6 separate regions of the Homo sapiens genome follow, and all the other regions are linked to region 6. The links are contacts of gene promoters, found by promoter capture Hi-C in blood cells and fetal thymus (Javierre and others, 2016). All regions are on one chromosome and are shown on one strand. Each heading gives the region's core, a stretch centred on a gene start or on the middle of the fragment in contact. The rest is flanking DNA. Distances are from core to core; before and after follow the strand shown. Region 1 has its middle 21 kb from the start of BCAS2. Region 2 holds the start of BCAS2 (BCAS2 pre-mRNA processing factor). Region 3 holds the start of AMPD1 (adenosine monophosphate deaminase 1). Region 4 overlaps AMPD1 (adenosine monophosphate deaminase 1). Region 5 overlaps NRAS (NRAS proto-oncogene, GTPase). Region 6 holds the start of OLFML3 (olfactomedin like 3).

Evidence for each region. The method cuts DNA at HindIII sites, captures the fragments that hold promoters and counts their contacts. A CHiCAGO score of 5 or more calls a contact.
Region 1: a contact is called between a fragment that was not itself captured here and the fragment with the promoter of OLFML3 in region 6, in 6 of 17 cell types (total CD8 T cells, megakaryocytes, naive CD8 T cells and 3 more). The highest score is 7.3, in total CD8 T cells.
Region 2: a contact is called between the fragment with the promoter of BCAS2 here and the fragment with the promoter of OLFML3 in region 6, in 14 of 17 cell types (total CD8 T cells, total CD4 T cells, naive CD8 T cells and 11 more). The highest score is 15.8, in total CD8 T cells.
Region 3: a contact is called between the fragment with the promoter of AMPD1 here and the fragment with the promoter of OLFML3 in region 6, in 4 of 17 cell types (total CD8 T cells, endothelial precursors, erythroblasts and 1 more). The highest score is 7.3, in total CD8 T cells.
Region 4: a contact is called between a fragment that was not itself captured here and the fragment with the promoter of OLFML3 in region 6, in 6 of 17 cell types (M1 macrophages, endothelial precursors, total CD8 T cells and 3 more). The highest score is 8.8, in M1 macrophages.
Region 5: a contact is called between a fragment that was not itself captured here and the fragment with the promoter of OLFML3 in region 6, in 3 of 17 cell types (M1 macrophages, M2 macrophages and endothelial precursors). The highest score is 5.8, in M1 macrophages.

Annotation. Positions count from the first base shown.
Region 1 is chr1:114,559,036-114,562,549 of GRCh38, forward strand. No RefSeq gene overlaps it. Among named protein-coding and RNA genes, the nearest start is that of BCAS2, 21 kb to the right of the region's middle. The HindIII fragment of the contact is 7,376 bases long and covers 1-3,514 here.
Region 2 is chr1:114,580,183-114,583,222 of GRCh38, forward strand. It overlaps BCAS2 (BCAS2 pre-mRNA processing factor), which reads right to left and starts at 1,433. Exons shown (of 7, transcript NM_005872.3): 1 at 1,317-1,433; 2 at 1,117-1,209. The coding sequence starts at 1,409. DENND2C (DENN domain containing 2C) reads right to left here. Exons shown (of 21, transcript NM_001256404.2): 21 at 2,668-3,040. It overlaps LOC105378914 (a long non-coding RNA gene), which reads left to right and starts at 1,661. Exons shown (of 3, transcript XR_947719.4): 1 at 1,661-2,217; 2 at 2,343-2,456. The HindIII fragment of the contact is 8,807 bases long and covers 1-2,277 here.
Region 3 is chr1:114,693,821-114,696,992 of GRCh38, forward strand. AMPD1 (adenosine monophosphate deaminase 1) reads right to left here and starts at 1,726. Exons shown (of 16, transcript NM_000036.3): 1 at 1,630-1,726. The coding sequence starts at 1,651. The HindIII fragment of the contact is 1,819 bases long and covers 42-1,860 here.
Region 4 is chr1:114,673,099-114,676,640 of GRCh38, forward strand. AMPD1 (adenosine monophosphate deaminase 1) reads right to left here. Exons shown (of 16, transcript NM_000036.3): 11 at 2,779-2,905; 12 at 2,432-2,595; 13 at 1,654-1,774; 14 at 811-984; 15 at 541-651; 16 at 1-174. The coding sequence ends at 16. Among named protein-coding and RNA genes, the nearest start is that of DENND2C, 4.8 kb to the left of the region's middle. The HindIII fragment of the contact is 2,142 bases long and covers 1,069-3,210 here.
Region 5 is chr1:114,712,814-114,715,994 of GRCh38, forward strand. NRAS (NRAS proto-oncogene, GTPase) reads right to left here. Exons shown (of 7, transcript NM_002524.5): 3 at 987-1,165. Among named protein-coding and RNA genes, the nearest start is that of NRAS, 2.4 kb to the right of the region's middle. The HindIII fragment of the contact is 2,336 bases long and covers 762-3,097 here.
Region 6 is chr1:113,978,028-113,981,330 of GRCh38, forward strand. OLFML3 (olfactomedin like 3) reads left to right here and starts at 1,447. Exons shown (of 3, transcript NM_020190.5): 1 at 1,447-1,603; 2 at 2,305-2,590; 3 at 2,922-3,303. The coding sequence starts at 1,490. RefSeq lists enhancers at 691-1,524, 3,192-3,303. The HindIII fragment of the contact is 3,076 bases long and covers 36-3,111 here.

The sequences.
Region 1 (3,514 bases), core at 372-2,871, 580 kb after region 6:
CCTTTGAATGCATTTAGTTGTAAAGTGTGGAGGAAGAAGGGAACACTGAGCTAAGATGAAGCTGAGCTTTTTATTATCCTGAATTATGTACCCTTAAAGTCCATATCTAAATTCCTTGACCAAATGTTTTTAAGATCTAGAGAAAAAAAAATATGTTAGAGAAACTGTTGGCTGAGTGTGGTGGCTCACACTTGGAATCCCAGCACTTTGGGAGACCAAGGTGGGTGGGTCACTCGTGCCCAGGTGTTTGAGACCAGCCTGGGCAACATGATGAAACCCCATCTCTACAAAAACCAGAAATATTAGCTGGGCATGGTGGCGTCTGCTTGTAATCCCAGCTACTCGGGTGGCTGAGGAGGGAGAATCACTTGAGCCCGGGAGATTGAGGCTGCAGTGAGCTGAGATTGTGCCACCACACTCTAGACTGTGCAACAGAGTGAGACCCCGTCTCAAGAAAAAAAAAAAGATTTCTGGTTGGTAAAATGTGGTAACTAAAAGCAGAACTTGAAAGTTGCACACATCACTTCAGTTCCTATCTCATTGGACACAACCTAGTCACACAGCATATGTACATGGTTGGATGGGAAGCTAGCAGTTAAGTTTTTAGTTGAGCATCCATATGCCCAGCTAAAACTTCTATTATTATAGGAGAGGATAACATATATTAGAGGGGCAAGTATGTAGTCCCTGCTACAGTAAGTCACTGAGACAACAAGTTCTGGGTTTACCCCTTTCCTTCTCAAAGACATGTAAAAATACAACCAAGTGAGATATGCATAGGGATCATCTTGAATCTGTATGATATATTTAGAAAGAAAGTTATTAAAAACTGCAGGTTTTGGCTGGGTGTGGTTCACACCTGTAATCCCAGCACTTTGGGAGGCCAAGGCGGGTGGAATACTTGAGGACAGGAATTTCAGACCACCCTGGCCAACATGGCAAAACCCTATCTCTACTAAAAACACAAAAATTAGCCAGCCGTGGTGGCATGTGCCTGTAACCCCAGCTACTCGGGAGGCTGAGGCAGGAGAATTACTTGAACCTGGGAGGCAGAGGTTGCAGTGAGCCAGGATTGCACCATTGCACTCCAGTCTGAGTGACAGAGAGAGACCTTGTCTCAAAACACAAAAACGAAACTGCAGGTTATTTATTTATTTATTCATTTAATTTTTTTTTTTTTAAGATAGGGGTCTTACTATGTAGGTCACAAGCTGGTCTCAAACTCCTGGGTTTCAGCGATCCTCTCACCTGAGCCTCCCAAAGTGCTGGGATTATAGGTGTGAGCCACCGTGCCCAGCTAAAAACTGCAGATCTTAAGTTACAGTGAATAACAAATTACTTGGCCCACATCTCTCAACAAACCACAATAGCCAGCTTATTGACTTTTATGGCTATTTCCCAGCACAAACTATGAAACAGACAGACCATCCCAGTTCTCCACTACTAAAATTATGCCATAATAAATATAACCTATTATATTTTTCTTTAGAAAGAAAAAAATCCTAGGGAGTAGTTGGGTGAACTGTTTATCATACTGGGCCAGCTAAGTGAAAGGGGTTACCTCTCTCTCTCTATTTTATAGAGACGAGGTCTTACTATGTTGGCCAAGTTGGTCTTGAACTGCTGGCCTCAAGTGATCTTTTCCCCTCCACCTCCCAAAGTGCTAGGATTACAGGCGCGAGCCACTGCTCCTGGCCAAGGGGTTGCCTCTTAACTCAGGTAAGATCCAGGGTGTAATAGACATGTTGTCATTATCTGCCCAACTACTTCCTCTCCTGATAGAAGCGCCATCCTATCTTACTTTGGGGAGCTATTACTCCAATCCAATCAACTGCCAAGCATAGTACTCTACCCTCAATTCTACAGGTATATGATCGATATCTGGCCAATCACAGTGCCCCCAAGTCCTAGCTATACTTCTGACTCTAAGGACTGAACGTGAAATTTAGAGCACATCAATCAAAATCCTCTGAAATAATATATACTGATATATTTGCTTCCTTCTAAGGCTGCTAAACTGAGATGATGTAAGTCTGGAGCTGCCTGTGGCTTTGGCCTCTGTTGTATAGAGGAAGCCTATTTGTAGGAGACAATATGGCCAGAAAGAGAAACAGAGAGATGAAAAACAGGACGACACGGGATCTCTGGAATTATTTTTTATATTTTATTTATTGAAAAAAAATTTTTTTTGAGACAGGGTCTCACTTTGTCACCCAGGTTGGAGTCAGCTGTGTGATCATAGCTCACTGCAGCCTGAAACTCCTGCCTGAACCTCCCCAAAGTGCTAGGATTACAGGCATGAGCCACCATGCCCAACTGGAATCCCTGGATTTAGTTGACGATGCAGCTAGTTCCACCTCTGTGCTTACAAATTAAATGAACCAATAAATCCCCCTTTACTGCTTAAGGTAGTTTTAGTTAGCTTTCTGTCACTTGCAAACAGACTTCTAATATCCAGAAATAGACTTCTAAGGATAGAGGAAGTGAAGTGGGTCTAATATAATAAATCTTAGTTCTCAGGGTAGAAAGCAGGGTGAAACAGAAATAGAAACTTCTGTTCATGAACAGGTTTACAGAGTGTCCCATTAGTCCAACTTATTTTTGATTCTATGGTATCCAACAAATTTGTATTGAAATTAAATGAAATGTGGTTTCTGTGTTCTTCTGGCACTAAATAAACATAGTACCTTGAGTGGCAGTCTTATGAATAATTTTCATTTTCTTTTTATCTGCATTTTCTGATTTGCCTATAATAAACATATGTAGATTTTTCACCATGTTAAATCAAACATTTATCATTATTCTTTATCAACTATTGTATTAGTTTCCTCAACATTTATCATCACTCTTTACCAACTATTGTATTAGTTTCCTATCAGTGCCGTAGCAAATTGCTATAAAGTGGGTGGTTTCAAGCAAAACATATTTATCATCTTACAATTCTGAAAGTCAGAACAAAGTGGGTCCGCAAAGCAGTTTCTCCTGGCCAACACTCTGATGGGAGATTTGTTTCCTTGCCTTTTCTAGTTTCTAGACACCACCTGCATTCCTCAGCTCATGGTCCCCTTCCTTCATCTTTAAGGCCTGCAGGTTAGCAACCTTTCTCCTCTCTAACCTTCCACCTTCTACCTCCCTCTTAAAAAGACCCTTGGAGGTCCACTCCAGACCCTGTTTGCCTGGGTATCAGCAGCAGTGGCCGCAGAACAGCAAATGGTGCTGCCTGATCATTCCTCTGGAAGTTTCGTCTCAGAGGGGTACCTGGCCGTGTGAGGTGTCAGTCTGCCCCTACTGGGGGGTGCCTCCCAGTTAGGCTACTCAGGGGTCAGGGACCCACTTGAGGAGGCAGTCTGTCCGTTCTCAGATCTCAAACTCCGTGCTGGGAGAACCACTACTCTCTTCAAAGCTGTCAGACAGGGACATTTAAGTCTGCAGAGGTTTCTGCTGCCTTTTGTTTGGCTATGCCCTGCCCCCAAAGTCTACAGTAACCAAAACAGTATGGTACTGGTACCAAAAC
Region 2 (3,040 bases), core at 183-2,682, 600 kb after region 6:
TAAAGTGCTGGGATTACAGGTGTGAGCCACCACACCCAGCTAAATACTGCCTTTTAATAATACAATCCTTTCATAAATAAACGATTAGGTATAATGGGAAAAAATCCTCCAAGCTGTACATACTGAAATACTTGAATCCAATAATTTAGAAATGATATCTTACATTTCATTTAGCTAACTAGACCCTAACTAGAATCCTGGGTGTACTTCAAGGTTATACATTTAAAATAGTATCATACTCAATGTGTGGAGTAGAACAGCATCTGACTCCTTAGGCAATCATGGACACTCCCTTCTCTAATCCTCTTGTCCTTATACATACCCTCCGCTATAGGTCCTTTACATATTATTACACATTTATACATACTATTGTAAACTTTTTGTTTTATATATCTAGCTCCTCACTGTATTGTATTTTTCTGTATTCAGAAACCCTATCTTTTTTGGAGAGGATGTTTGTCTTAAATAAAGAAAAGAAAAATTAAAAGAAAACAAAATATATTAAAAAAGAAACCCCATATATCTCTATGATCTCAGAATCTAGAATGGCACCTAGCACTTGTAAAGTATTCATATCAGTGAAAATTATTGCCTACATTAATCAGAAATGTGTTAATAAAAACATCGGATAGATTACAGAAAAAAGGAGAAGGCTGAGAAAAAAGTAGTATACACTTGGATATGGTTTGTCCTTTCAGTCGTATCACATACATTTGGTAAATAACTAGACTTTAATATGCCACTCTCCAGTGGTTCTAAAGAGCTTAGGTAATTAGGCTTATACATATTAAAAAACCCTAGATCACTTGCTGTAGAGTGAATCTTGGCAGGAGAGGGTCCCTTTGAGAATTTACGCATGGATCCTATCTCAAAGAATGGTAGCCACAAATTTTTGCATTAAGTGAGTTGTGGAGCCCCAGAAAGTCTTCCTATGGATCTTAGAATAAGAACCTCGGAGAAGACTTATCTATCTAGTTGTTTTCAATAGACTGACACCTATACAGTAGGTAAGTAGTAGCTATGCAGGCAATGGTTAAAACTGGAATTTAAAGCTCTCAATCCAAAATAAAGGTTCACAGGAATTCTCGTTCACACCTAGGCTCAAGACATACTTACTTCAAAGGCAGAATAATCCGGGGCTGTCAGGTAGCTCAGGTAGTTCTTAGTAGGTCGGTATCTGCGAGTTTCCTCCTCCACCAGCGCTGCAGCCTAAGAAAGAGAATAGGGACCAGGGTAGAAGTGGCAAATTGTAACATGTTTCTTTCAGTACCGAGCCAGCTAGCAGTGAGTCAGCTACAAAGACACCCCGCACTCACCGCTTCCCGCACACCAGGGGCTTCATAACCTTGATCAAAATACGGCAGCGCATCCACCACAACCTCTCCAGCCACCAAACCTGTGCCCGCCATTCTGAGGACCTCAGGTTTGCCTGCGTTTTCTGCGTCTGCGTAAACTCAGTTATATTTAATTACGCCGGCGCCTGACACTGATGTAATCACGTTCCCTCCGTATTGACGTTAGTGCATGCTCAGTTGCTAATTTTGAAGGCGGGTCCGCCCGGTATCTAGAAATTGCCGGGCTGGTTTGTTTTGGGCGGACGTGACGTAACGTCTTGGCTTGTCTGCGTCAGCGAAAGGCCTCAATTTCCTGTCCTCTGCTTACTGCCCCTTTTTTTGCCTGCGAATGGCGGCGATTTGAAGTTGGGGCTTTTCGTTTCCTCCAAAACATTGATATCTGGAAAGGGAGCCCCTTAACACTTTTGGAGGGAACTGGCTGCAGCATTTGGCGGGGAGAGATAAACTGGTTTCCCACCTCTGCTTACTCCCACCTTCTCCCCTTAATCTTCTCTTCCTCTGTGCGAGACTTTTTTCCTTTTTTATTGTAGACACAGGGTCTTTGTTCTGCTGCCCAGGTTGGAGTGCAGTGGCGTGATCATAGCTCACTGCAGCCTCAACCCCCCGGGCCCAAGCGATCCTTCCACCTCAGCCTCCCGAGTAGCTGGGCCTAGAGGTGCACACCACCATGCCTGGCTAATTTTTAATTTTTTTTGTAGAGATGGAGCCTTTCTATGTTGCCAAGCCTAGCCTCGAACTCCTGGCCTCCCAAAATGTGGGGAATACAGGCGTGAGCCACTGCACCCCGGGTCATTCCTCTTTTACTTCCTTGCTGTACCCCAACTATCCTTCCCCCTCGGTGCCCTTAAAACCTTTGCATTGGGTAAGTACATTTTTTAAAGAGACTCTAGAATTGGGCGCCAGTCTCCAATTAAAATTGTGAAGCTTTATGGTCTGCGTATCAAAAGGAACCTCAGTTCCTTAAAAATCCTGTCATTTTGCCTTTAGGACTTAACGGTAATAGAATGGCATTCCTCACTGCCTCCGAACCACTCAAGCTGCTGCCCATGCACTCTCTTCTGCATGGCTCCTGGACTAAGCAGCCTCCCTTTGATTAAGCAGGTAAAAACCAAATAAAGTTGTCAGACTATATGCCCTGCCCAGTGTGCAGTCTAGACCCAGCCTTTGTCTGCCAAGAGCCTGGAAATGTTGACCTCCGTTATTAAGCCTGGTCAGTCTAAGACTAATTCTTATTACCGAAGTACCATTAGGTAAATGTGCTAGCTATAGATTTAAGTGACATAAAAGATCTTAAAGAATTCTCCAAGGGATCTGTGGGGGGTTTATGTATTTATTCATTAAAAGATCTGTAAACAACATTTTATACAAATCTTGATTCTTTTACAAAAATATCCAGAATTCCTAACACTTTACAGAAAACACAACAGACCTAAGGAAATGAAGCAGCTTCAGGCTGCGAGGATGAAGACACCATTGCTGAAGCAAAGGTCTCCTCCTAGAGGGATAGCCAGGATCCATCACAGTAAACCCTTTTACCCCCATTTTATAAACATCCAATTATTAACTGTTCCTGCTGGGTTGGAGTGTAAGAAGAGACCAAATGGAGAGATGTCTAGTAGAAGCCCCACTGGGGGTAACCTGCTTAACATTAAAAAAAAGACAGGCTCAGTTCTATTCCCTGGACC
Region 3 (3,172 bases), core at 476-2,975, 720 kb after region 6:
TGAGAAGCTATCCTACGGAAATCATCCTTAAACATGGAAAAAGCTTTAGGTGTCAATATTGTTATCAGAACATACTTATACTTAAAAAAACCATAAAGAGGCCGGGTGCAGTGGCTCACGCCTATAATCCTGGTACTATGGGAGGCCGAGGCTGGCAGATCATGAGGTCAGGAGATCGAGACCATCCTGGCTAATACAGATATTCACTGTGTTATATGTGAAACACCGTCTCTACTAAAAATATAAAAATTAGCCGGGCGTGGTGGCAGGCGCCTGTAGTCCCAACTACTCGGGAGACTGAGGCAGAATGGCATGAACCCGGGAGGTGGAGCTTGCAGTGAGCCAAGATCGCACCACTGCACTCCAGCCTGGGTGACAGAGCGAGACTCTGTCTCTAAAAAAACAAAAACAAAAACAAAAACGAACAAACAAAAAAAAACCCCCAAACCATAAAGAACCTAAGGGATTAATTAAGAAAATAGAATATGCAGTCTTTTAAAATGGTTTTTAGGAAAGGTTTGGGATACCATGGTAAAAGGATAAGTTGTAAAGTTAAGCCAAAACATTATCCTGCCAAAAGCAGGATATAAAATTACATGTGCAATATAATAACAGTGCCTTTTTAAAAAAAACTCTTTAATTTTACACAGAAAATAGATTGAAAAGAAAAAAAAACACTAAAATGTTAAGAGTGAATATCTTTGGATAATGGATGTGCAGATTTTTAAAATTATTACTTTTGGCTGGGTGCAGTGGCTAACACTTGTAATCCCAGCACTTTGGGAGGCTGAGGCAGGCAGATTGCTTGAGCTCAGGAGTTTAAGATGAGCCTGGGCAACATAGCGAAACCCTGTCTCTACAGAAAATACAAAAACTAGCTGGGCGTGGTGGCAAGTGCCTGTAGTCCCAGCTACTCGGGAGGCTGAGGTGGGAGGATCACCAGATCCCAGAAGATTGGGGCTGCAGTGAATCGTGATCGTGCCACTGCACTCCAGCCTGGGCAACAGAGTGACACCCTGTCTCAAAAAATAAATAAATAAGTAAAAAATAAAATTATTACTTTTACTGAATTTCCCAACTTTCAAAACGAATGTTTATTACTTTTATTTTTTCAGCACAATTTCTATTTCACATGAAACATGTATTGCTTTTATCATTTAAAAATTATAACATTATTATTTTAAAAATTACTCTGCGTACAAACCTGGACAACAGAAAGCTATTCTCGTGAACCATCAGAATACACACATGGGTTATTTTTGTCATGTTCATGATTTTCAGCCAATACCATAGCTAGAGTCATTATGTAGAAGCCGTCTCAGAGCTATGGCAGCACAGGTTTTGTTTAGACTAGCAGAATAGATATTAAATATTTCACAGAGTTTTCTACTGGGATCATCAAAGATGCAATATACATGATAACAGTTTTAGAAACTTACCCACATCCCAAAACTAAAAACAAACAAAAAACCCTTGAAAATATTTTGTGTTTTCCTGAAATGTATGTTAAAGCTATCACGAACCCTAAATGAATGATCAAAGCTGATATGGTAGCTAAAGGAACAGTTGCTTGTCAAAAAAAAAAAAAAACAACAACAACTGAGCTCTCCAAACACTTTGTACACCTACCTGGGAGTTTGAACAGAGGCATTGTTGCTGAAATCCTTGATTCTAGGATAGCACAGTAGAAAAGAAGAGAGAGGAGACTGTGGGGTGACTGACTGACACTATAAAATATCCTGACATTCATTTTATTATTTTGCTTTGCCCCCGGAAATTTGATTCTTCTCTGCTAAGTGGAGAGAGATGAGCTTTGGACCTATTTATAGCTTGAGGCATTTGATAGTGAAAAACAGGTGAAGCTTTCAGTCTTTACTTTGGGATTAGAAGATATCTGTGGTGGGCCAAAAATTGCATTTCAATACTCTCTAAATCTTCTTACAGACTGGATCTTTGGCAAGTGTAGGACCACTGATGGTGATATCCCACCCTAGTGAAATACAGTGAAGTCTTTCCGGTTTCTGAAGCTATGATCCTCAGGGTTTCACATCACGCAAACAGCTTTCTGTGGTTGGTGAATATGCTGGTACATTCATCAAGCTCTCAACAGACACACACGCACACGCACACACGCTCAGGAATGCATGTTTTTATTAGTAATGTGTCTGACTTAGCAGAACTTCAGTTGACAGTTTAATGAATTAAGTGTTAAATTTACTTCAAGTCTTTTACAGAAACTCAACTGTCCTCCAGAGTATCCAGTTACCACTTCTCTACCTATTGTTATAATAAGAACAATAGCTTTGTTTTGTATAACATTTTATTGTATGTAAAACATTTGGCAAACATTATCTATTTGATACTAATTACAATCCTGTAAGGCAAGTAATACCTTATCCCTGTTTCCCAAATAAGAAAACTGGGGCTCTGACAGGTATCTTGCTCAAAGTCATTCTGTTCATCATAAATGGCAAAGCCAAGGCTCTCTGGACCCAAATCTCACGCTCTTTCCATAATAACACACAGTCTTAGTTATGACTGTATATATGTGTGTGTATATATATGTATATATGTATATATATGTGTATATACATATATTTTTTTCGAGACAGAGTCTCGCTCTGTTGCCCGGGCTGGAGTGCAGTGGCGCGATCTCGGCTCACTGCAAGCTCTGCCTCCCGGGTTCACGCCATTCTCTTGCCTGAGCCTCCCGAGTAGCTGGGACTACAGGCGCCTGCCACCATGCCCGGCTAATATTTTTTGTATTTTTAGTAGAGATGTGGTTTCACTGTGTTAGCCAGGATGGTCTTGATCTCCTGACCTCATGATCCACCTGCCTTGGCCTCCCAAAGTGCTGGGATTACAGGCGTGAGCCACTGCGCCCGGCCAGTTATGACTAAATATTTGATAGTTGCTGCTAGGTAAAGAAAGTACGCTGCTAGACTCAGCAGAAATTTTAAATTATAACAGCTTATATTGAAGATGAGCTTGGCACTTCAGATTAGCAACAGAATTATGGGCATAGACCAAATGATCTTTTTACTATTAACTATTTCTTTTTGAAAATTGGGACAAGCCTTTTTGTTGGCAAAACTTAACAATATTTTAGTGCTTAGCCTTATGGCCAACCTCTCAATCAACAATATTGCAACACATTACAAAGGTGTTACTG
Region 4 (3,542 bases), core at 890-3,389, 700 kb after region 6:
TTGGTTTACTTTTTTTTATTCTGTTGATTTAAGACCCTCAGCAATTAAATTGAGTTCATAACACCAGGTTTCATAGCGATAGGCCATGCGGATTTGGGCTACATTTGTCCTCCGGATATCATTTCCAGCAGGGCCTTCCTCAAGGTAATTGTCGCCCAGAAACTTTACTTTCTCCTATAAGAGAAAAGGATGGCAGAATGATTGTTGTCTCTTTTCACCCTGGTATAGACAATAATTGCATTCTTTACAAAAATTCCTTCCTTATGTTAGCCACTGACAAAAGAATAATAATAATAGACCATTAAAAGCACCCATCTAGTGCCTCAGTGTTCACAGTCTGCTGAGAAATCAAGTGTATTTTACTTCCCTGGCCCAAAAGGCACAGGCAAAGAGATAGAATAATCCCTTCTAGTCCCTGTCCATAGTAACTGCATATGATTCGTGGAACAATTTTTCTACATGTGTTTCCCAACTACTTTTTCGGTATTCAAGTTAGCAGACCCTATACTCAGAAGGGAAGCCATTTGAAGACAGGTCTACCTCATGAGAAATTCCACACTGCAAGACACTGTTCCTTGCCACTTCGCACATATCACAGGTGCTCAGCTTGAAGACTTGTGCAGCAATAGCATATTCTTCCATTAGGGGCTCCTGCAGTTATATTAAATGAGGAAAAAAGAGGAGTGAATTAATAAATAATATGCATCCTGCCTGAAAAAATAATGAAATACCTTTATTTGACTTTCAAATTCTGGACGGGAAACAACAGTCCAGCAAAATATGCTTGTATTGCCCAAGTCCATACTATACCTTGGTAAAGTGGAATTGCATTGGGTCATCTGTAGACAGTGAGATCATTAGCCCTTTCTGAAGGAAATCCAAAAAAGGATTTTTGGCATACTCTAGAAATAGGCTATTGTTACTTAGTGGTGACATGGCGATGGGAATTTGGGCTAAGAAAAACAAGTACTGTAGCACGGGACTCTGAAAAAGAAAAGTAAAAAAATATTTAAAGATGTTGAAAAAGGAATACAAACTAGAAACACTACAATCTCATGGTCTGCCTTAAGCTTCAGCTTTCAACAAAATTATCACTTGTTCTTCAAGTCTCTTAGTAAGGAGAATTTAGGAGTTTTTCAATGTAAATGCTATTTAGAATAAATGTACTTAGGATACATTAATTTTCAGAAACATTGAGTCAAACCAGATTGTTTATTTGATCTATAATGGCCTACGTTAGATGGTCTGTCTCAGGCAAAAGACTTTGCCTTGAAACATTATTTTTTCTCTCTCTCTCTACAAGAAAGTTCTGACTCTCACAAAAAAACATCTTGAAGCATGCTATAACAAGAAATCTGGCAAAAACTAGCTTAAGGAAAGCCAGGCCATCTCTGAATTATCCCTTGTCAGGATTCTAAGCTAGAAGTCAGGAGATCTGCGTTAACTTTTATCTGACAGCAACTAGCAAGGTAATCTTGAGCAAGTCCCTTTACTTCTTTCTGTAGAATGAACTGCACTAAACTAAAAAATCTTTTATGCTCTACTTGATTATGATTGCAGTGTCGATAATGACTTGTGACAGTATGGTTGGTTAAGGGAAAAAAGATTCCTCTAGCTCCAATGTAAAAGTTAAGAAGAGAGCTTCCAACTCACCTTTTTTAAATTTAGGCCATGAGAGATATCATCTGCTATCATGAATGCTGTCATGAGATGGGTGAGGGCTCCAGCTTCTCCACAGTGAGGTCGGAACAGAAACGTATTCATGCCTCGTTCCCTGGGGAAATAGAACTGCTATTGGAATCGCAGGTTCTGGGTATGGAGTGATTCACAAGAAAATTCAGTAGAAAAGTGAACACTCTGGAAGGAAGTAAGCCATCCAAAGGATTCAGCAAAACAGTCCCAAATCATAATCTTAATTCTTGCTAAATACAAAGTTTCCAAAAAGAGGCAGCAGAGGATATGGGGGTAAGGAAGCAAATAAAGTGTTGATTGCCTGGATGGAAATACGTTCAGTCTCAATAGGAAATTTACCAATATCAACATCTCATCATTTATTCTATTCTATTCAAATTTTAAGGGAGAAATGTTTCCAGAAAACTCCAGTATAATATTCCTCTACTTATTCCTTACCCAAATATATCAAGAAGGGCAAAATATATGAAGTTTTATCATTAATTGCACAATGATTAGTATAAATTCCTAAACTTCCCAAAAAAAAAGGAACTGTGAAAGTTATTGAAAGCATCGAAATACCGATTTCTGCCCCAAAATAAATAAACTGAAGAAAAAAGTTAAGAGAAAGAAATTTCTGATTTGGGCCAATTGGAACCATCACAGTAATGCATGAGGCCCCTGACCACCTTAATTGCCAATATATGTGGAAAGAGCTGTGTCAAATAGACCCTCCTAGCTCCAGCTGTCTCCTACTTACTTTCTCAGGCTGTTGAGCACCATGATGTTTGCATACATGTAGTAGGCATAGTAAGTGTAAGATGGATTCTTTTCCAATGTCCACTCCTGGGGCTTGGGACTCTTGGAGGAGAACATGTGGCCACTGTGTTTGGACTCATCATCCACACTGTCAAAGCCAGTGATCTGTTAGGAAAAGTGAGCCATGCAATGGGTTCAGTCCAACTTCAGGGTCCCAGTCCTCACACAAACTTTCAGGTCCAAAGGCACAGACCAAACATAAAGAGATAAGCACCAAGAATTAGTCATGACCAGGTAGGAAGGCTGGTTCATGAGCAGCAGTATGAAGGCCTGAAGGGTCATGCTTACATGCTTGAGGAAGACACTGAGTTCTGGGTCAGCCTGGGGGTTGATGGTGGCCTCAAACACTGGCATGAAAATATTCTCCAGCATTTTTCCAAAATGTGGAAGGAAATTCTTGGAACGGAACACATCACTAGAGGCAAGAATGAAGAGAATTTAGGAGAAAAAAAGATTTTTAGGACTGATAGCCCCAGTATGAGGGAACCAGAGAATCGAATGTCATGCACAGGAAAAGACGTGGTATATCTATCCTAGGTCCATGCTCCTCATACATTCTTTTTGGTCCCCTATAGAGAGGGATTCAGTTTGGGCAGCACATAGGAAATAAAAATTTTTTGGTGGACCCTATGTCCCCATCTTTTTTACAAACCTTTGTCATAAGAAAACTAAACCTTCACAGCTAAGTCCTCATAGAGGAATATGCAATTACGTCATAAAAGCTTCAATATATGTGTGTAACTACAAGACAGTGAACAGGAAATGATTACCAAGAATACCTCTGATCTGCAATTTAACAAACTCTGATATAGCATTTAATATATTCCAAGCACTCTTCTAAGTGACCAGAAATATTAGCTAATGTAATCCTCATAACAACTCAATAAGTTAGGTATTGTTTTTAACCTTGTTTTAGAGATGATGAAACTAAGGCACAATGGGGTGATATAACTTAACCCAAGGTAACACAGCTAAATGGTTGTGTTACCTTGATTTAAGTATTGCCAGGATTCAAGTATCACCACTCTGGGTCCAGAATCTATACTCCTAAC
Region 5 (3,181 bases), core at 680-3,179, 740 kb after region 6:
TATAGGTTAGGAAAGCCACATAGCCCCTGAGTCACGTCGCTAATAAACAGAGCTAGGTTTCAATCCAGGCAGAGTTCTCATTCTTAACCATTATATTATTCTGTTTAAGAACACTGTGCTAAGAAAAAGGAGCTTTGGGTTTTTGGTCCTGGCTCTGCTACTAATAACAATCCTGACTCCAAAACCTAACAAACGACATTCTGAACTCTGTTTCTGATTCTGCAAAATAAGAATATTGTACTAGAATTTTTATGGTCCAATCTAGCTTTGAAACTTTATGGTTCTATGGACAAAGTCTATCTTTATGTTCCCTTGCTTTGTTTTCATCTTTATGGACTTCCTATTTGCTTACTCCTATCATTTTATTTTTTATTTTTTTTGGAGACAGAATCTTGCTCTGTTGATTAGGCTGGAGTGCAGCAGTGCAGTGGAGTGAGCATGCCTCGACCTCCTGAGCTCACGTGATCCTCCCACCTCTGCCTCCCGAGTAGCTGCCACCATGTGTGACTAATTTTTTTATTTTTATTTTTGTAGAGACAGGGTCTTGCTCTGTTGCCCAGGCTGGTCTCCAACTCCTGGGCTGAAAGTGATCCTCCCGCCTTGGCCTCCCAAAGCACTGACATTCCAGGTGTGAGCCACTGTGCCTGGCCTATCTTTTCCATTACATACTGAAAGATGTTTCTTGGAGATGTTTTCCTCTCTGAAATTCCTTCGTGATCTCTAATTACAACAACTCTGGTTCCAAGTCATTCCCAGTAGCAAGCTTCACTTATGTATTATCAAACTTTATAGTAACAGTATATTATGTAAAATAAATTCCAGTATTAACTTTCAGTAATTACCCTAGATTCTCAATGTCAAACAACCTAAAACCAACTCTTCCCATAATTAAAAAGCTCTATCTTCCCTAGTGTGGTAACCTCATTTCCCCATAAAGATTCAGAACACAAAGATCATCCTTTCAGAGAAAATAATGCTCCTAGTACCTGTAGAGGTTAATATCCGCAAATGACTTGCTATTATTGATGGCAAATACACAGAGGAAGCCTTCGCCTGTCCTCATGTATTGGTCTCTCATGGCACTGTACTCTTCTTGTCCAGCTGTATCCAGTATGTCCAACAAACAGGTTTCACCATCTATAACCACTTGTTTTCTGTAAGAATCCTGGGGGTGTGGAGGGTAAGGGGGCAGGGAGGGAGGGAAGTTCAATTTTTATTAAAAACCACAGGGAATGCAATGCTATTGCCAAGGTTAAATAAGCATCTAACTATTCAAGCCCATTTCTGCCTATCTGGTTTGTCCCTCAAATTGCTAATATATAATCACAAACAAAAAGTATCCAATATCACCCTACATAAAAGAAAACCCACCAAATTCTATATGCCTGCAGAAAAGAAATATGGTCACTGTGTTCCTGGAAAAGATTAAGAAAACACAGTAACTCAAATGACAACTCTACTGCAGCCAGGAGGCTACAGATTAAGTACCCAGTGTATTTCACTAAGCTATGAACTGGACTGTTTTATTTGTGCTGTTTATTTTACTTAAAGAAATCTAAACATACCTCCACCAATTATAACCTGGCCCTATATACATCATTTGTGTTTATGACTAAATATACAAATACCTTTGTTTCAGAGAAGGTTTTTTTTTTATCATGACAGATGTACCTTTGGGAAATATTCCTGAATCAAATTCTTAAAGGTTCCAAACAAGGTATAGTTATGTTTAATTTCTCAGGAAGACAAACATGCATAGATCATATAAAAAATACTTTCATTTTGGTTTTATGGCAACAGGACTTTTACTTGTATTTTAATGTCATCACACTTGGAGAACTCTCTGGAGTACTGGAAGTGCTCTATACTGTTATCTGGGTGGTAGCTACATGACTATATAGAAACGCAAAAAGCACTGGGCTGTAGACATAAAATTTATGTATTTTACTTATGTAAATTGCTCAATAAATCAAACATTTAAAAATATTTAATTAAAATATTAAACATTTCATGTAAAATATTAAAGCTGTTAAGCTCAAAATAAAGATTTTGCCAAGGGTTAGCAACCAATTTTTTATAGTGGCTACATTAGAGTTAGTTTTCATCAATTAAACACGAGTAGCCAGATGGTAGGGAGGCCAGGTGTTGATTAAAATAATCTCTAAAGTTAGGCATTTCTAAACTGAACAAAATTACAAAACCCTTTATTTATTTATCTATTTATTTATTTTTTGAGACGAAGTCTCGCTCTGTTGCCCAGGCTGGAGGTCTGTGGTGTGATCTCGGCTCACTGCACCCTCTGCCTCTGGTTCAAGCGATTCTCCTGCCTCAGCCTCCTGAGTAGCTGGGATTACAGGTGCCTGCCACCACACCCAGCTAATTTTTGTATTTTTAGTAGAGACGGGGTTTCACCATGTTGATCAGGCTGGTCTTGAACTCCTGACCTTGTGATCCGCCTGCCTCAGCCTCCCAAAGTGCTGGGATTACAGGCGTGAGCCACCGTGTCCGGCAAAACCCTTTATTTAAAGAGCCTTAGGTGCCACTTACTGAAGACAATCTGTACCATGAACTCTCATAATAACAATAGAATCCCTAAGTACTATTACATAGTGCTTTACCATTCATAAATAACTTAAATATATTATTTAACTTTCCATAACATCCCTGTGTGGTAGGCAGGACAAGTTTATGGTAATTTAAAACATGAGGAAAATGAGGTTGGGAGAGATTCAGTTGCTCAATATCACACAACTAAATAAACTGCAAACAGGGACCAAAATCCTAGGCATAAAGACTAAAAATCTCAAGTTCTTGCTACTCCAATCATCTGGTCTCAGCTGCTTCAACTAGCTAATAAATAAATATTGAAGAACACTCATCTCTGAATCCTTTATCTCCATCCTATTATCTCCCATACAATCAGACAGTCTCGCTACTATGGCCTGTGTTTCTCATGTAATAGAGCTGTTATATATGAAGAAACTCATGAATGAACTCAACACTGAGTTTGCAATAGTTTACAGAACTGTTAAAAACTGGACAGGTTTTAGAAACTTCAGCAGCTAATAAAAATGAACTGTTCTCTATAAACACGTTAAGCTTATTGCATAACTGAATGTATACCCAAAATAACTTTTTACTTTCTCTCCTCTTATTCCTTTAATACAGAATATGGGTAAAG
Region 6 (3,303 bases), core at 197-2,696:
GAAAGAGGTAGAAGACTTCTGAGACCGGCTAATTAAGCTTTGTTTCCTCATATGTTTTGCCAGATAGCAGTAGCAGAATGAAAAGATGAGTAACCACAGGAAGCTGCTATTTTTCCCCTCCTTTCAAACTGTACTGTTAGAGTCATGGTCCTTTTTACAGAAGGAACCTCTCATCAGATTCTGTTGATTCTAAAGTGAATAGAATTTCTCCCGATAAAGAAATAGGGGTTTGTTTCGATTAATGACTGCAGGTCTCTGAGTAAATGCTCTATTTGATTTTTTTTTTCGGCCCGTGTGTCTACCTTATGGCCCAAGTCTACCTTATGGTGGCCATTAATTCATTTTGGGCTCCTGCAGCCTTAGTTGGGATATAGAAATGAGAAACACTCAGAAATACCCTTTTGGACCACAACCAAGAGAAATAACCAATAGTCTTTTCTCCCAGTGGTAAGGAAGTCAGAATACATTGATCTAGACTGCAACAACATATATATATATATCAGATTCCGCCCCCCCGCAATACATGAATGTATAGTAAATTAGTGTGAACTCACTGAACACTCCTCAGTTTTGGTGAGAGACTATATCTGGCCTCTTTCAAGCAAAGGAAAGCCATGTAAAACAGCGCTGCTGTCAGCCTTAACTTCCAGACGATCGAGTTAATTTACTAACTTCTCAGTGACCTGTTTTTTTTTTTTTTTTAATCTCAGTTATATTTTCTTCCTTGGGCTAAATCAGATATTTGCATAGCCCCCAAAGTAGTAATTGGATAGTCTTGGGGGAAATATGCATTTCAGTGGTGAAAACCCCTGTAAATTCAATATATTTGGCTTTTGTGGAAAATTTTCCTCATGGGGTGAAGTCTAAGCCTTAGTTTCTGTATTATCATGAGAGATGACACCAGCTGCTTAGCACAAGGTGGCGCCAATGAGCTTTAGAATAAGTTGGGCTTGACCACTTGGGCCATTGTTTTCCTGCTTCCTCCCTTCAAGCCTCACCTCCCCAGCTCCCAGCTTCTACTGAACAAGGCTGAAAACCCACTCTATTGCAGGGAAAGGGAAAGATTAATGAAAAATGTCAGTTTCTTAAGTCAGCACTGGTGAAACTTTCCTAAAACAGGAATGGCGTTTGCTGAGTTTTCTCTGGGGTCTCTGCTTTCTGCAGCTAGCTTCCCTGCTTGACTGCCTAGAAGGCCTCTGCTTTCGGGTTTCCATCTCTTTCCCCTCCAGAGGACCCTACAGCCTAGGCGGGAGGTGGTTAAGGCTTCTGGCTGCTGTGCAATGGGGCCATCTGTGTTTGATCAATCCTGGCGGAAAGGAGGGGGTGGGGGTTGTAAAGAGAACTGAAAGCATTCCAGAGTAGTGAGAGAGACCCAGAGATCAGGAGAGAAGGCACCGCCCCCACCCCGCCTCCAAAGCTAACCCTCGGGCTTGAGGGGAAGAGGCTGACTGTACGTTCCTTCTACTCTGGCACCACTCTCCAGGCTGCCATGGGGCCCAGCACCCCTCTCCTCATCTTGTTCCTTTTGTCATGGTCGGGACCCCTCCAAGGACAGCAGCACCACCTTGTGGAGTACATGGAACGCCGACTAGCTGCTTTAGAGGTGAGGGACCCCTTTCTCTTCTAGCCCCGCCTAGAAGGATTCCAGGGCTATTGGTTCAACCAGTTTGTTAGGGATCTGGGGATAACAAGAAAGGGCTCTGTTAGAGTCTACAGAAAATTCTCTCTTAATAAGAGGACCTTCGGAATGACAAGCCCTCCTCTTACCCCACATAGAACAATTCCAAAGCAAATCGACTTTTGCGTTTTACCTCTGGGATTAGATAGAATAAGGGGGCAGAGTGGAAACGAGAGCCAAAATTGTGGGGCTGCATCTCCAGAGAAGGTGATGATTCTGTTGAAGTTGGAGGTTCCCGGGGAATCTATAACTTCCTGTCTTTTTAACAGGTTGAGATCCGTAGCATTTTAGTGTCCGAGAGGATAATTGCTAAGGGAGCAGAGACCTCTTCACACCTTCATGCGCTTAGACCTGCCTAGAGGCTCAGATGGCTCAGTGGCACTGCTCACAGAGAACACAGGCTGGAGGACATGGAGTCGGGGTAGGGGCCTAGGTGAATCTCAGCTAGGCTCTTTGCACATTTAGCACCTCTGCACATCTGGTTTCCTTTTCTGCAGGAGTGGAAGGGGATATTGAAGCCTGGCTGAGTTTGCTCTTTTTTTCCCATTCCTGACTCCCGAGTTGGGCCTCTCCCTGCCTGGGAGTTGTAACCCTGCAGCCTCCCTCCTGATCCCCCATCCCTTCAGGAACGGCTGGCCCAGTGCCAGGACCAGAGTAGTCGGCATGCTGCTGAGCTGCGGGACTTCAAGAACAAGATGCTGCCACTGCTGGAGGTGGCAGAGAAGGAGCGGGAGGCACTCAGAACTGAGGCCGACACCATCTCCGGGAGAGTGGATCGTCTGGAGCGGGAGGTAGACTATCTGGAGACCCAGAACCCAGCTCTGCCCTGTGTAGAGTTTGATGAGAAGGTGACTGGAGGCCCTGGGACCAAAGGCAAGGGAAGAAGGAATGAGAAGTACGATATGGTGACAGGTAAATAATCTGAAAGCAGGCCCCTAACTCTTCTCAGAACCGATATTCTTCCTTCCTTGCTTCTTACTCTTTTTTTCGCTTTGTCCCAGTCCATTGTGGCTCTGTCTTCTGGAATCTGTTTTAGGGAAACCTCTGTAATGCCAGGTCTATTAAGGAGAGGTTCTGGGGATCCAGGCCGCTGTGGTACCCGCTCTTTCTCAATTCTCCCTAAGATTGGAGGCAACCACTGGGCAAATGCTCACTATTCTCCAGATCACCCACCCTGGGGGAGTTCCTGCTGGAGGCATCTAATTCTTGCCTCTATTTCCTTTTCCTGTGCTTTTCTCATCAGACTGTGGCTACACAATCTCTCAAGTGAGATCAATGAAGATTCTGAAGCGATTTGGTGGCCCAGCTGGTCTATGGACCAAGGATCCACTGGGGCAAACAGAGAAGATCTACGTGTTAGATGGGACACAGAATGACACAGCCTTTGTCTTCCCAAGGCTGCGTGACTTCACCCTTGCCATGGCTGCCCGGAAAGCTTCCCGAGTCCGGGTGCCCTTCCCCTGGGTAGGCACAGGGCAGCTGGTATATGGTGGCTTTCTTTATTTTGCTCGGAGGCCTCCTGGAAGACCTGGTGGAGGTGGTGAGATGGAGAACACTTTGCAGCTAATCAAATTCCACCTGGCAAACCGAACAGTGGTGGACAGCTCAGTATTCCCAGCAGAGGG